Linked DNA regions of Homo sapiens: region 2 is linked to region 1. The links are contacts of gene promoters, found by promoter capture Hi-C in human tissues and cell types (Jung and others, 2019). All regions are on one chromosome and are shown on one strand. Each heading gives the region's core, a stretch centred on a gene start or on the middle of the fragment in contact. The rest is flanking DNA. Distances are from core to core; before and after follow the strand shown.

Region 1 (7,464 bases), core at 2,539-5,038:
AACAGCATTTTCAGTGCTCTTATGTGTATCAGGAAGATCAAAATACACTATACCATAAGTCCTAAGTGACGGAAGAGATTAGTTATTAAATTCTGGGGAAAGTTAATCATATTCACTTTGAAACTTTAGCTGAATTTGGATCTCACTAAGGGGAAGGGGCCAAGTCATCGGGGATGGGGTGGGAAGGACCGTGCAGGAAAAAGCAGCATTACCTCAAGGATACTAAACACCTGGCGTTTAGAAAGTGCATTTTCCCCATGAAGCATGTTTGACAGGGAAGCATGAGGGCTGTGCCAAGACAAAAGCAGAAGTGGTTCTAGGTGTCGAATTCATATAAACCTTGTTGTTTCAGAAGGTTTAGGTACATTTATGGATGCCAGCTCCATAACCGGTTCATTTGACTTTATTCTGTTCATTCTCAACCTCTACCACACCTCTTTGCTGTTTGCACTTTTCTTCTTTATTGAAGGAGCATGAGTCGCCTGCAGGCCTGGCACAAGCTGCTCTGGTCTCCCCGCCTTGGATGGTACCAGAGCACTGGCTGTTTCACACTTGGGCTGGGCCTACCTCACATGGCCCTACTGTCTCCCACATTGTCACCAGCTTCAGCCAGTGTCCTTTAGCCTGTGGGCAGGTCCACATTTGCACACCTTCTAAGTGGTCCCGGCCACAAGGACATAGGGGCTTGTTGGACATGCCCTTGAGGGGGTCCCAGGGACACAGATGTAACTTTCCCAGCAGGCAGTCCTGGAACCAGGAAGAGGATGGCTCCCTGGAGAGGAGCGATGACAGCTTTGCAGTGCTGGGGCCGGGGAAGGGCCAGTGAGGGGGTGGTGGAGAAGGCACAGTGGGTGGTGAAGGTTGGGTCATTTGGTCATGAGTCACTCTTTCTATAGCAGAGAAATGACACGGACCTCAAGCCAAAATCTGGGCTTGAGTTGGATTTGTTCCTTGTGAGTGTGAGAATCTGGTCCTGTTCTGGAGGCTGTCTGCTCTTGGGTTCCTTCACTTACCATTTAGGAACAAAAGCACTGACATTTCATAATTTTTTGAGGATTAAACCAAATGGGATTCATGGAATAACATATGGTTACACTGCCTCCTCCAACCCAGGAGTGCACATAGGGTGCATGCAGCAAGGTATCCCCATGCAGCCATCCTAGGGGAAGGGTCTTGTCCTGCATCGCTTTCTCTTCATCTGCACTAGCAGTCAATGCATTGCATTCATACGGCATCCAAATCACGCTGAGCGCCCAGCTCTACGAGATAAAAGATGAGGCCCTAGGAAGTGGGGAGACAACGTGAGTCACTGCGTTTGCAGCAGCACAGAAGGTCTGTGTGTCAGGAGTACCATCTCATTTACGTCACATTGAATTTGGCTTACTTTCCATCACTCACACTAGTTGAAGAATGCTGTGCCATTGGTAATCCAAAGGAAAATTTATTTTTATATATTTTCTTTTTCTTTTTTTTCTTTTCTTTTTTTTTTTTTTTTTTTGAGAGATGGAGTCTCGCTCCAGGCTGGAGTGTAGTGGCATGATCCCGGCTCACTGCAACCTCCACTTCCCAGGTTCAAGCAATTCTCCTGCCTCAGCTTCCCAAGTAGCTGGGACCACAGGCATGCACCACCATGTCCAGCTAATTTTTGTATTTTTAGTAGAGATGGTGTTTCACTATATGTTGGCTAGGCTGATTTCAAACTCCTGACCTCAGGTGATCCACCCACCTCAGCCTCCCAAAGTGCTGGAAGCCAACGTGCCAGCCTTTTAGAAATATTTTCTGTTTAGCTTTGGAATGCTTTATGTGATGGAAGGCAGCAGATTCATTCTTCTTTCAATTAAATTGACCCAATATATTGTGTTAGTCATTGTGCTAGGCTTTGAGGGTGCAAAGGCAGTTAAGACACAGACAGAAAATGCAACGAAATGGTGGTGAGCTCCATGAGAGAGGTACAAACAGAGCTAGTTCTGGTTGAGAGGGAAGGAAACTCCTGGGGAGGAGGTAGCATATCAGTCAGGAAGCGTGAGGTTTGCAGCAATAACAAACAACCCTCAGCTCTCGGTGGCTTAACATCCCAAAAGCTGACTGACTCCTCATTCATGCTACATATCCAGTGTGTGTCATTGTAGCCACTTAGGGTCACAGGTCACAGAGTTAAACCTCTCAGAAGAGAGCAGGGCATTGTGCAGTGCCTCCTTATGCTGCTATGTACAAGTGGTGTGTCCTCTCATTGGACATTTTCTTGGTTACCGCTAGCCATACTGCCATACCTAACTTCAGAGAAGAGAGAGTAACACCCTGGCCTGTGCCCAGAAGGCAGAGAGCTAAAAACATTCAATGAACAACACTAAAAAACCCCATCGGTGTCTTCGACCCAATATGCGGAAGGAGTATGAAGGAGAAGAGCTTCCAGGGGATGAAAAGCTTTATGAAAGCTGCCAAGATCAGAACGCCTGGCTGGAGAGAGGGGCTCCAAACAGGAATGCTTGGAGGCACGGTGTTAAGGGAGGACAGGGCAGAGTGTGAAGCTGGGCTAAGGAGGTTGGATTTGATCCGGGAGACACGGAAAGTCATAAAGGAGCTGTGGTTTCAGATTTACCTGACTGCTTTGTGTAGGAGAGATCAGAGGGTGGCAGCCCAGAGGCAGGAGATCTTTCTTAACCAGGCAAAGGGCTCTGAGGACTCGAATAGCGGTCTTCTAATGCGCAGGAATGGAAGGGCTATGCTTGTCAGCAGAGTCTTGATCAGATTTGGAACTAATTGGATATGAGATGTAAGCAGGGTGGAGAATCAAAGATGATTCCAGGATTTGAGCCTGGGAGAATGCTGCCATTAGAATTAGAGAAAACAGTGGAAAATGGGCAAGTCAGGGAAGGAAGATGGGGCTTGTTGATCTCAAAGCAGGGATTTTTATTTTGTTCACTCCTGTTTCCCTGTACCCAGGACAGTGCTTAGCGCCTAGTGTGTGCTTGGTAATGTTCATTGGCTACAGAATACAGTAGAACATAAATGGAGACGTCCCCAGGCGACCGCTAAGGCAGAACTGGCACTCCTTGGTGGTGTCTGTGCTGGGAGGGAGGTCTTCCTGTCTGAAGTCGTAAGATGAGACGTGCTGCCAAGAGAAAAAGCTTAGAGAAGAAAGGGATGAAACTGAAGGGAGAACTTTGGGAATCATGACATTTAGGACTAGAAAGGAGGACCGGAATCCAGGGAAAGGGGGCATTTGAGGAAGCATCAGATGCTGCAAGTGGGCGAGGGGCGTTGGGATGGCTCAGAGGGCATCTGGTGGCACAGCTCATGTCACTGGGCCTCCCCAGGGTAGCCGGGCGCAGGCCAGCAAGCGCCTCCCGCCTGGAGAACAGGAGGCTGCGTAGCCGACGGGGAGCCTGGGCCAGGGGCGGTTCTGGTTTCTGTTTGGTTTTGGGGGGTTCATAAATGCGATTTAGTCCTGTAGCAAAGTGAGCAAGGTGAAGGGGAGAGACCGGAGGCGCATGAGGGAGGAGGGAAAAGATGGTTGGCATCAAGGAGGTGGATAAAGGGCTGCCCTCCCGGGGCAGGGCCCCTGGAGGGCCGGAGGGGTGGTGAACGCCGTCGTGGTGATGGTGAGGGCCTTAGCGACCACCACCCGAGTGAGGCCCCCTCACCTTCAGGCCCAGAGCCGAGGGGAGGAGCCTCCCCCAGGGCCGGCGGGGGCGGGCAGGTGAGCCGGGCAGGTGCGCAGGCGAGCGCGGCGGGCTGGGCGGGCCGAGGCCACACCCTGAAACTACCTGCGTGGGCCGGGCCGGAGTGTGAGAGCGGAGCTGCAGCCGGAGAAAGAGGAAGAGGGAGAGAGAGCGCGCCAGGGCGAGGGCACCGCCGCCGGTCGGGCGCGCTGGGCCTGCCCGGAATCCCGCCGCCTGCGCCCCGCGCCCCGCGCCCTGCGGGCCATGGGAGCCGGCCGCCGGCAGGGACGACGCCTGTGAGACCCGCGAGCGGCCTCGGGGACCATGGGGAGCGATCGGGCCCGCAAGGGCGGAGGGGGCCCGAAGGACTTCGGCGCGGGACTCAAGTACAACTCCCGGCACGAGGTGAGCGCGGGCCGGGGACCCGGGGCGCTGGGAAGCTCCTGCCCGCCCGACCCTGCAGCGCGGCGCTGGGCTCGGCCGGCTCCCCTGGCGTGTCCGTCGGTGGCCGAGCTCTGGGCGCACAGGTGGAATTTCCTGTTCAGCGGGTGCCGGGCCGCGGGCGGGCGGGGCTGGCCGGACCTTTGGTACCGGACCGGCTGCGCCCCGCCAGGGGGAGGCGGGAAGCCCCTGGGCCTTCCTGCGCCCTCGGTCCTTTCTTTCCCTGAGTTGAAAAAAGGGGCTCCGTCTCGGCCCCTCCATGACTCTCGCGCTGTTAGTGAACATCTGGAAGAAACCAGGGGCTTGGAGTGGGGTTATTTGGGAGGAAGTGAAATTTCAGGAGGGTTTGGAGTCTCAGCCATCCTTGGCCTCTGCAGAAAGTTTCTTTCGTCTCTCTCCTTCCCCGTCAAAAGGCGCTTTGGGACCTCGCAGAGGACAACTGGGAGGCCAGGGCTTTGGCTGCCATACGGGCTGGAGCTAAGAACTCCAGAGTTGGGCTTGCCTGGGCTTCTCGAGAGGGGATGGAGCCCTTTGGGAAGGCGGCTGTATGGGAAGGGATGTGGGAACACACATGTCTTGAGCCTTTTGCGAAGTACCGAAACAGGAAGCTCTTCTTTGGCAGAAAGAACAATGAAAGACCTATTGAAAGATCTCAAAAAGATTACATGTTCCTGTATGGAGTTGGGGATGGGTCGCTAGTCACTTCATTGACGGACCCACCTAGGTGGTAGTGCCCGGGCGGGACCAGCAGCCAGGTCTCTACCCTCTCTGTCCAAGGCAGACCCCCAGGTTTCCTGGAAGGCCAGGGCATACCAGGTCAGGGCGGCGCTGAGAGGCAGGGGCTGTGTGGCAGAGAGTTTTGCTCCTCTGCAAATGATGGCCTCCCTGCCCTGCCAACCCTCACTTTCTCCCCTCCTTCCGGGTGCCCCTGGGCTCCATAGTCTCCGCCGTTGCTCCCTAAGTCAGGCCTGATTTTGGTGCTGTCTCAGATCAATTCCTTTTGTCCAAGCAGCATCCCGACCTAGGGAGCTTGCAGAAAATCAGACGCTGGGGCTTTGGAGGCTGCCTGCACCACAGACAGGACCTGGGGCTGGGCTCTGCTATTTTCTCCACTTTTCACCCTCAGCAAGGAGGAAAGCTTCCAGTGGACCTGAAGGCTTGGGCCCTTCCCCTGGCTGTGCCTGTGCCCTGCTGTGAGGCAGATTCACCTTCTCTTCCTTGCTGTAATTGCTATGTTTGTGTCCTTGCTAATTGCCTACTTGGGGTTCTAGACTCCCTGCCTCTTCAGCAGAGAACCTGCTGTTTGGAATTTGTTATTTCAGGGCAGTCCGGTGCCCCCACCCCAAGTTTGTTCTCCCTGACTTCCCTTTCTAGGACTCTCCTGCCCACACGGGGAAAGCAGGGTCTTCCTGGTCGTGTGGTCCAGCCTCCTCTCTGAGCCATCTCACCACCTGACAAGCAGCCAGGCTGGGGCTCACCTTCCACTCACCCCCAGGATCCCACATTCAGCGGACTTGTCTTGTCACCTGCAAGCCCTGGCTTTAGTTTCCCCCATCCCTGCTCATTTCCTCCTCCTCTGCGAAGCTCATTTGCTCTCTGCGCCCTTGGGCTGTTCCTTCCCCCTCTGCCATTTTCATTCTCTTGGCTTGCTCTTTGTCTTTTCTCCTGCCGAGCTTTATTGAACTAACTCAGTACCTAGTCCCATGGGTGAAGGGAAGGCTCTCAGAGACCAGTAAGATGTGGTTGTTTCCTTTAAAGAACATCCAGTCTTGAGAGCGAAACTAAGAGACGAATGCCAAAGTTAGCTGTGAGGCGGAGTGTCCAGAGGAAATTGGCCAAAGCTCATTTCCATGTCTTGCAGATTCCTCCCATCCCTGGCCTCACCAGAAATCCCAGTCCCTGGGATCACCCTGTAGTGTGTGTTTGCAGCTAGGATGTCCATCCCCGGCCGGGAGGTGTGGCTGCTGCCCCTGGGTTTATTATCTGGGTCAGCAGAGCCTGGCCCACAGGGTGCTGTTGTTTCTGGGTTCCTTGTCCCCAGTTGCATCCATCCGTGCACCCTTGTTTGGTGGTATTTGTATCTGGCTGTCCCCTTCCCAAGGCTGGTGGTGTGGCCCCTGCCCCACCCCTGCTGTTCCCATCAAGTGTTCTGCGTGGCCTTCAGAGTCCTGATGCACGTTACTGCATCTGGGGATGGTGTGAGCCCTGCCTGCAAGCAAGCAGGGAAACAGATGCCACTTCTTATGGCCATTAATGAGAGCCAGGGAGCCTGCCTCCCTGAGGGTCTTGATTCCTGTTGAGTATTTGATGGTGAATATGAAGCTGCCTTGACATCCACTGGTTCCTTTTCCGATCACAATTGCCCTAGGTAAGACTCAGCATCCCTTAGGCATCCAGAGACCAAGTTTGGAAAAATCGGATGTTGTGTGGCCAAAATCAGATGTCTAGGGGCCAGGGTGTACACCTCTGGCTATTCAGAGGGTCACCTGCTTGTTAATTTGTCAACCATTCAGGCATTCATTCACATAACAATATCTGCTAGGTAACCCACTGACTGAGCCTGTGCCAGGTGCTGGGAAATAGCAGTGAGGAAGACCCTAGACTCACAGCCCCTGTCCTTGGGACCACCCAAGGTAGTGTGGGGTACAGGGAACTGAATTCTGACTCATGAGTACTAGCTTCTCGATATGCACTGGGTGAGCACATGGCATCTCTCTAACCCAGGCTGGAAGGGCCAGGTCAGCAAATTAGGGCTGCAGGCATCTGTGATGTGGTGGCAGGAGGTAACATGCAGCCAAGACCCGGGGCCGCCTTGTCTAGCCACGTGATCTCAGAGATGTTACTCAATATCTCTAAGCCTTGGTTTCTGTGGCTATAAAATGGTGATGACATATATGTTCCAGGTTTGTTGAAAGGATTAAGAGGGGTACTTTACATGAAAGCCCTTTGTAAGTTGCAGTGTGGTGTTCAAATGATGCAGCTTGAGTTTTTGAGTTGAAAGGGACTTGAGACAAGCAAGAAGATCGTATAGTATCAGTAGGTCGCCTGTCGAGAGGCTGAGAACCCAGGCTGTCAGTGGGGCCCTGACCTCACAGAGGAGCCATCCTGCCCTGCCAAACACAGGGAAGTGCCCCCAGGATTCAAGGAACTGCTCGCCAGCAACAGAGACCTCTTCCTAAGACCTTCTGATTTTCATTCCCCTGCTTTACCCAGCTTCTAGGAGAAATATCTTTCTATGAAAAGAAAATGTGTGCCAGCTGCATATCCCTTTCTCCTTCTCATCCCCTGCCCCTCCCACCATAGAAAATTAAACTTTTATTTTGTTTTGTTTTTTAGACATGGGGGTCTTGCTATGTTGCCC
Region 2 (6,745 bases), core at 782-3,281, 340 kb before region 1:
TGAAATCATAATGGGGCTTTATAGAGCACAAGGCGATGTTTGTAAACAGCACTGTTCAGGTCAGATTAGAATCCGTATTTCAAAAATGAGGAGATGGAAACAGAGATATTGTGTATGTGGTCCAGGGTTAGCCAGTAATTAAATGGCAGAGCCAGAACTCAAACCAACATTCCTTCCAGAATACCACAGCTGCCTCTGGAGTGGTTTTTGTTGTTCTTGTTGAATTTTGTGATGGAAGATTGTGATTTGTTTTTCCCGAACACTTAATATGTTTTCTGACTTGAATTATCAGAATCTAAATTTAGAAACTCTCTCGTTTGGTATATTTCATGCCCATCTTTGTTCCATATAATTACAAAAATATCTTAGAGCTGAGTATAACCTTAAAGATTGTCAAGTCCAATCTTGTGGTTTTTCAAGGAAGAAAACCGGATTTAAGAAAAATAAAGCAAGTACCTCATGTTGCTTCCCCAAATCTACTTCATTGGAGAATTACAGCTAAAAACAATGTTCAGATTTTTGCTCCTTCTGTCATGTGGTCCCTTGAGAATTTGCCAAATGTATAAATCCAGTGACTTATTTTGATGTACTCTTTTGGTTTGAGGTCTGTGACAGCAAACATAACCTCCTTGAATCCCAGCCTCAAATGCCTATGGACCTTCTGTTCTAACTGTTATTATAACTGTAGCCGTTATTATAGTGGCTAAAGTTCTAACTTCTGTTCTAACTGTGCTCCTGGTTCCATGACAAAGAGAGCTTTACTTGTCTTATTCCTAGCACAGTGCCCATAGCAGGCATACATAAAATGTGGTATGTCAGATAAACATCTGAAAAAGTGTGAGATGTCATTAGACGTTCATTCAGCTACAAGAACAGAAAACCCTACTACAGCGGCTTAAACAAGTAAGGAGTTTGTTTTTCTCAGAGAACGAGAAGTCTGGAGGTGAGAAGGCTGGGGCTGGGAAAGGGGTTCCGATATGAACGTCATCTGAGACAGGCTCCTTGTGTCTTCCCGCACCACCCTCCTTAGCATGGAGCTTTCATACTCACTTCCGCAAGTTGCAGCAGAAAGACGGGCAGAGGCATGCTCCAGAAGAGTCTTGTCTTGTCTTTTCTTTTCTTTTCTTTTCTCTCTTCTTTTCTTTTCTCTCTCTCTCTCTCTGTCTCATCTCTTTCTTTCTTTTGACTCAGAGTCTCTCTCAGTGGCACAATCTCGGCTCACTGCAACCTCCGCTTCCTGGGTTCAAGTGATTCTCCTGCCTCAGCCTCCAAGTAGCTGGGATTACAGACGTGCACCACCACGCCCAGCTAATTTTTGTATTTTTAGTAGAGACGGGGTTTCACCATGTTGGTCAGGCTGGTCTTGAACTCCTGACCCTGTGATCTGCCCCCCTCGGCCTCCCAAAGTGCTGGGATTACAGATGTGAGCCACCACGCCTGGCCTGTCCTTCTTTATAATAAATAATAATAATAACAGCTTTTCTGGTAGCCCACCCCAAAAGACTTCTTACATGTCATTGGCCAGAACCATATCACATACACACTGTTAACGGTGACGGAACCAGAGAGAATCTAGTGTTTGAGACAGACACGTTGCCAATACATCAAAATAAGAATTTTGGGCCAGACACAGTGGCTCACGCCTGTAATTCCAGCATTTTGGGAGGTCAAGGCGGGTGGATCACCTGAGGTCAGGAGTTCAAGACCAGCCTGGCCAACATGGTGAAACCCCATCTCTACTAAAAACACAAAAAATCAGCCGGGCGTGCTAGCAGGCGCCTATAGTCCCAGCTACTCAGGAGGCTGAGGCAGGAGAATCGCTTGAACCCAGGAGGCAGAGGTTGCAGTGAGCCGAGATCATGCCACTTGCACTCCAGCCTGGACAACAAGAGCGAAACTCCATCTCAAAAAAATAATAATAACAACAAAATAGGAATTTTGTTAATAAGGCGGGGGGAGAATGAACATTGGGTAGGCAGCTAGCAGCATCTGCCATAGTGTGTTTTATGAGTCATAGATCCTGTCTCTAAATAGGTTGTTATTTGTTTTGGTTTTTTGTTTGTTTTACTAAAAAGCAATGGGTAATGCAGTGGGTCCAGGGGAACTTTTTTAAATGGTAGAGTGCAAGGACCACTCTGAGAACTGCTGATTATGTAGGTCTGGGCTGGGTCTATAATTCTCCATTATGGACGGGCACGCCAGGTCATCTGAGGGCAGGTGGTTGCGGGAATACATTTTGAGAAACACCGAATGTCAGGTAGTTTAGCAAAAGCGACTTTATTTTATTTCTGTTAGCTTTTTGCCTCACTCCTCTTGAGGGTATACTTTATTTTTTAATTATCTGCTTTGGTCAACATAAATCAATGTATAGTCTTAGAAGTCGTTCATTGTAGAAGGTTTTCATTGAGTTTATACTGAGTATAGAACCCTAGCGGCAATTACTTTCAATGCTTTGGGTTGTGTTTTTCTGATATTACCATATTCTAAATAGCATGCAGATACGGGCCATTTCTTCTTCTCTTTTCCAGTTCTGGATGACATCTATTGACATCCTACCAAGAAGGATGAGGGTTTCGCTCCTTTACACCCCCACCCTCCCTCTCACCTTCACATCCCTTTCTTTTAAGTTCCCAGTACGGTTATATCCTAAATTTTTGATATGTCAATGTTTGGTGTATATATTATTCCCAACTAAGGCACATGATACACCATGATCTTTACATTTCCCTTCTTGACCAGTCTTTCCCCCAACCCCCTGGAATGGGGTGTAGGAGTTGCTACATTTTCTTTAGTTGTTTGAGAACTCATCACCAAGAAGTCATTTCCTGGAGCCAAGGAAACTCATGGGGGCCCTCTGAGTGCTGCTAATTGCATGGAGCTGTTGAGTGGGGAGGAAACGCCAGGCCGCCATCAAGAAGCATTTGGGGTAAATTTTCCAAGCACATCTGAAAAGACAGAGTCTAGAACCTCCACGGTCCCTGTCTGTTGTGATTTATTTTCTCATTCTAAATACACACACACTTTTTTTTTCTGTCTAGGCCATCTCTTGTGGAATACATATGTACTTTCATACCCAATTATGTACAGTTTTTGTAATTTTACGCCTTTTTCTTAAAGAAGGCTCCCAAAAGTGTATAAGATTCAGGCCCCATAAGATGCGGTTGCTTTTTGAGCTTGTGCCCATTTGAGATGTCACTTTTCTTCCTTCACACTTGCTTGCTGGTTTGGCTGGGTATGGGATATTAATCAGAAATCATTTCCCGTACGAATTTTGAAAACATTGCTCTATTTTATTCTACTTTCTTACGGTGCTGTTGAGAGGCTGATGCCATTCTAATTCCTGATCCCTTGTATTTTGTTCTAATCTCTGGGCATTTGTAGGGTTTTCTTTATTGTTCATATTCTGATATTTCATGATGTTGTTATTTAATGTTGGGGTGGGTTTTTTGGCGGGGTGGGGGGAATACAGGGAGGTATCCGTCACTGTCCTAAGTATTTTCTAGGCCTTTTCAATCCAAAAAGTACATTCTTCAGTTCTGAGTGGTTTTCTTCTGTTATATAATTTCCTCGTTCTTTCTTTCTGAAACTTAAATTACTTAGACTGAATCTGAAAATGGGATCTCTTGGATCTGTCTTGTAATTTTATCTTTTTTATTTTAAAAAATATCCCATGTTTTTTTAGTTCTAATAAATCTTCCAACAATGCTATTAAATGTTTACATTCTACCATTATATTTTTAATTCTCAGGAGCTTTTATTGGCGAGAGGTGTGGTCTTCTGAATGGTTTTTACAGTATCCTGTTCTCATTTCATGAACGCAGCATCTTCTCTTCTTTCTCCAAGCATATTAACTCAGTACTTTTTCTACATTTTAGAAGTTTTCTTCAGCTACCTACAATGTCTGTGTCTATTTTTAAAGTGACGTTTAATGTTGCTTTTGGCCTGCCTTTCACGTTGGAAGCTTTATACATGTTTGGGGATGGTGTGCGTCATCTGTGAGCATGGCTTGTAGGTTGGCTGGCTTCATTGCAGGGTGGTTAAGCAGAGAAGGCCTTTTTGATGGCTTATCATCATCTGTCTCTAGTGCTTTCTAGTACATATAATGGGTTTCTCTGTAGAAAGATCTCATTTCTAGCCATTTATTCCTGTTTGAGAAAAGTCACATAATAACTTAGATGTATTTATTATGTCATCTGCTTAATAGCGGAGGTTCTTGTTGTAAGGTGGACAGGTGGAGGTCTAGGATTCAAAATGGGAAATGTGTCCTTGACTCCGCCTGCACTTTGAAGTTGCTGATGTTCTCCATGTTTTATTTTCTATTGAAAAAGCTCTGAGATACTAGGGAATGAAAACTCTTTGACTACATGTACAACTAATTTACTTTTTGATAACCATTTGCAAAATATGGATTATATTGGGAAAACATTTTTCTTTTTTTTTTTTTTTTTGAGACAGAGTCTCACTCTGTGGCCCAGGCTGGAGTGCAGTGGCGCGATCTCAGCTCACTGCAAGCTCCGCCTCCCGAGTTCAAGCCATTCTCCTACCTCAGCCTCCTGAGTAGCTGGGATTACAGGCGCCCACCACCATGCCCAGCTAATTTTTGTATTTTTAGTAGAGACAGGGTTTCACCATGTTGGTCAGGCTGGTCTCGAACCCCTGACCTTGTGATCCACCCACCTCGGCCTCCCAAAGTGCTGGGATTACAGGCATGAGCCACCACACCCAGCCTGGGAAAATATTTTTCTAATATCTCTAGAATTTGGGACAGAATTTCTGTCCTTGAAGGTCACCCTCCAAATCCATGCAATTTTTCCCTTCTGCAGCCCCACAGTGATCATCAAAACTTGGAGCAGATTCATGTTTTTTATTTTTTTCCTGGGAAAGTTTTAGATCACGTGAAGGGAACAGATACTACGTTTGATAGGAATCGTTCCTGCTTTAGCTTCTTAAGGCCTCTCACTTGGAAAGCCTGCCCATTAGACCCTGATTTTTTGCTGTTAGCTTTTCCTTCTTAGGCGACTTCAACAAAGACTGCAAACTCCCTGACAGCACAGGCCCAGGCTTGTCACCCCTGCAACTCCATCTCCCAGAACAGTGCCTTATGCATAACAGGTACTTGATAAATGTTAGTTGACTTAAATTGACCCTATTATCTGTTTTAAACTAGCCCTTCCTACCTGTCCCCTTGCTATTTCCTCTGTTTCTGTTAAATCTTTTTATGTCACCACCTCTTGGATGATGCTACCTCATTCTCAAATCTGATGGTATGGAATAGCTATAAGAAAACAAACTTGAAAGATCTCTAACTACTAGGACTCTAAGTAGAATTTCCTGGATTGAAAACTCCCCATATCACCCTACTAAATATCTAATTATTTCTTAGGTTATCACCAACCACCCTGCATCGAGTCCCTCCTGAGCCACAGTTCAGTTTGGATTATTTTTTTCCTCATGTTCCATCCCTTGACTGTAGTGCCCTTCCCTTCCTTCCAGTGTCTTTGATCGGCCTGCACTTTGATCCAGAGCTTCTCTTTGATCTGTTCTAATGGTCATTTTTCTGCCTCCTCCCCTACATTGATCTACAATCTGGCATATTTTATACATTATACAAAGCTCATTGTTGTGCTCATTTCAGAATACCTACCTGTCAATCACACAGACATCTTTTCAAACCTAACTCAGACCCACAATGAAAGTCCCTCTCTTCTGGCCATTACTGAGATAGCTCCTGCTTCGGTCTCACTGGGGCTGTTTATTTCTCTATGGGAGGCTCTAGAACAGTAACTAAACTACAGTGCAAAACAGTGATCTATAGATTACTGTTTCTCAATCGTCAGCACTAACAATAGAGTCTAAACTCCCAGGGACCTGGAGACTTGTCTGAGAACAGCCTGGCATAAGTGCAGTCTCTCTTAATACTAAAAAATATATGCTACCCCACAATATGTCTGTATCTGTTTTAAAATGAAAATCATTTTTCCAGAATCTTTAGGTGAAATTGATACTCCAGGATTATGTTCGTCTTGTGATTTCAGATATCATCTGGGGGGAAAGGATTCACACATATGCCAGTCTGTGAGACACAGTAGTAGAAATCAAGGGACTTACCTAGCTCTAAGAATTGTATGAAAATAGTAACGGTACCAACAATTTTACCAATGGCTAGATTTAGGAGATGGTGTTCTCTTGATTCAAGATGAAGGCTAAGCTGCATCAGTTCAGTTCAGTTTAAGAACTATTATTATGTATCAAGCTTGTGCTAGTTTTTGATGGAGATGATAAGGTCTCCACTCTTGAAGATTCTGTAGACTAATGGGCAAGACATATGTCACTATATAATTTTAATATAACATGGTAAGTGATAAAAAATCATGGTATGTATGAGGTCCTTTGAAAACACAGAGGTGAGGCGCTTAGCCCAGCCTGGAGATTCACAGAGGCTTCCTGGAGGAAATAAGGCCTAAATATGGAAACCAAGTAAGAGGAATGAAAAGGACGTGCAATTTAGAGGGGACAACATGAGCAAAGGGGACACTGTCAGGTTCATGGTGGGGAGAATTGGGAGGTGACACTGGAGAGGAGCCACATTCAGGTATACCCAATGCAAGGGGACGTGGACCCCTCCACAGGCTGCTGGTTAGCCAATGGAACATTTTCCATCCTCCAGTAGTGTAGTCAGATGTACACGGAAGGTGGATGACTGGCTGCGGGGTGGAAGAAGAATTCATGGACAGCAGGACTAGAG

The links. Contacts are between HindIII fragments. The study calls those that stand out against the background at their distance.
Region 2: a fragment that was not itself captured here is called in contact with the fragment with the promoter of ST14 in region 1 in 2 of the 25 tissues and cell types used here (spleen and thymus).

The regions. Positions count from the first base shown.
Region 1 is chr11:130,155,994-130,163,457 of GRCh38, forward strand. ST14 (ST14 transmembrane serine protease matriptase) reads left to right here and starts at 3,789. Exons shown (of 19, transcript NM_021978.4): 1 at 3,789-4,067. The coding sequence starts at 3,987. RefSeq lists silencers at 3,668-3,787, 3,868-3,937 and an enhancer at 5,025-5,524. The HindIII fragment of the contact is 3,998 bases long and covers 2,777-6,774 here.
Region 2 is chr11:129,818,411-129,825,155 of GRCh38, forward strand. The region is part of intron 1 of TMEM45B (transmembrane protein 45B); the gene reads left to right. Among named protein-coding and RNA genes, the nearest start is that of TMEM45B, 5.9 kb to the left of the region's middle. The HindIII fragment of the contact is 6,152 bases long and covers 1-5,107 here.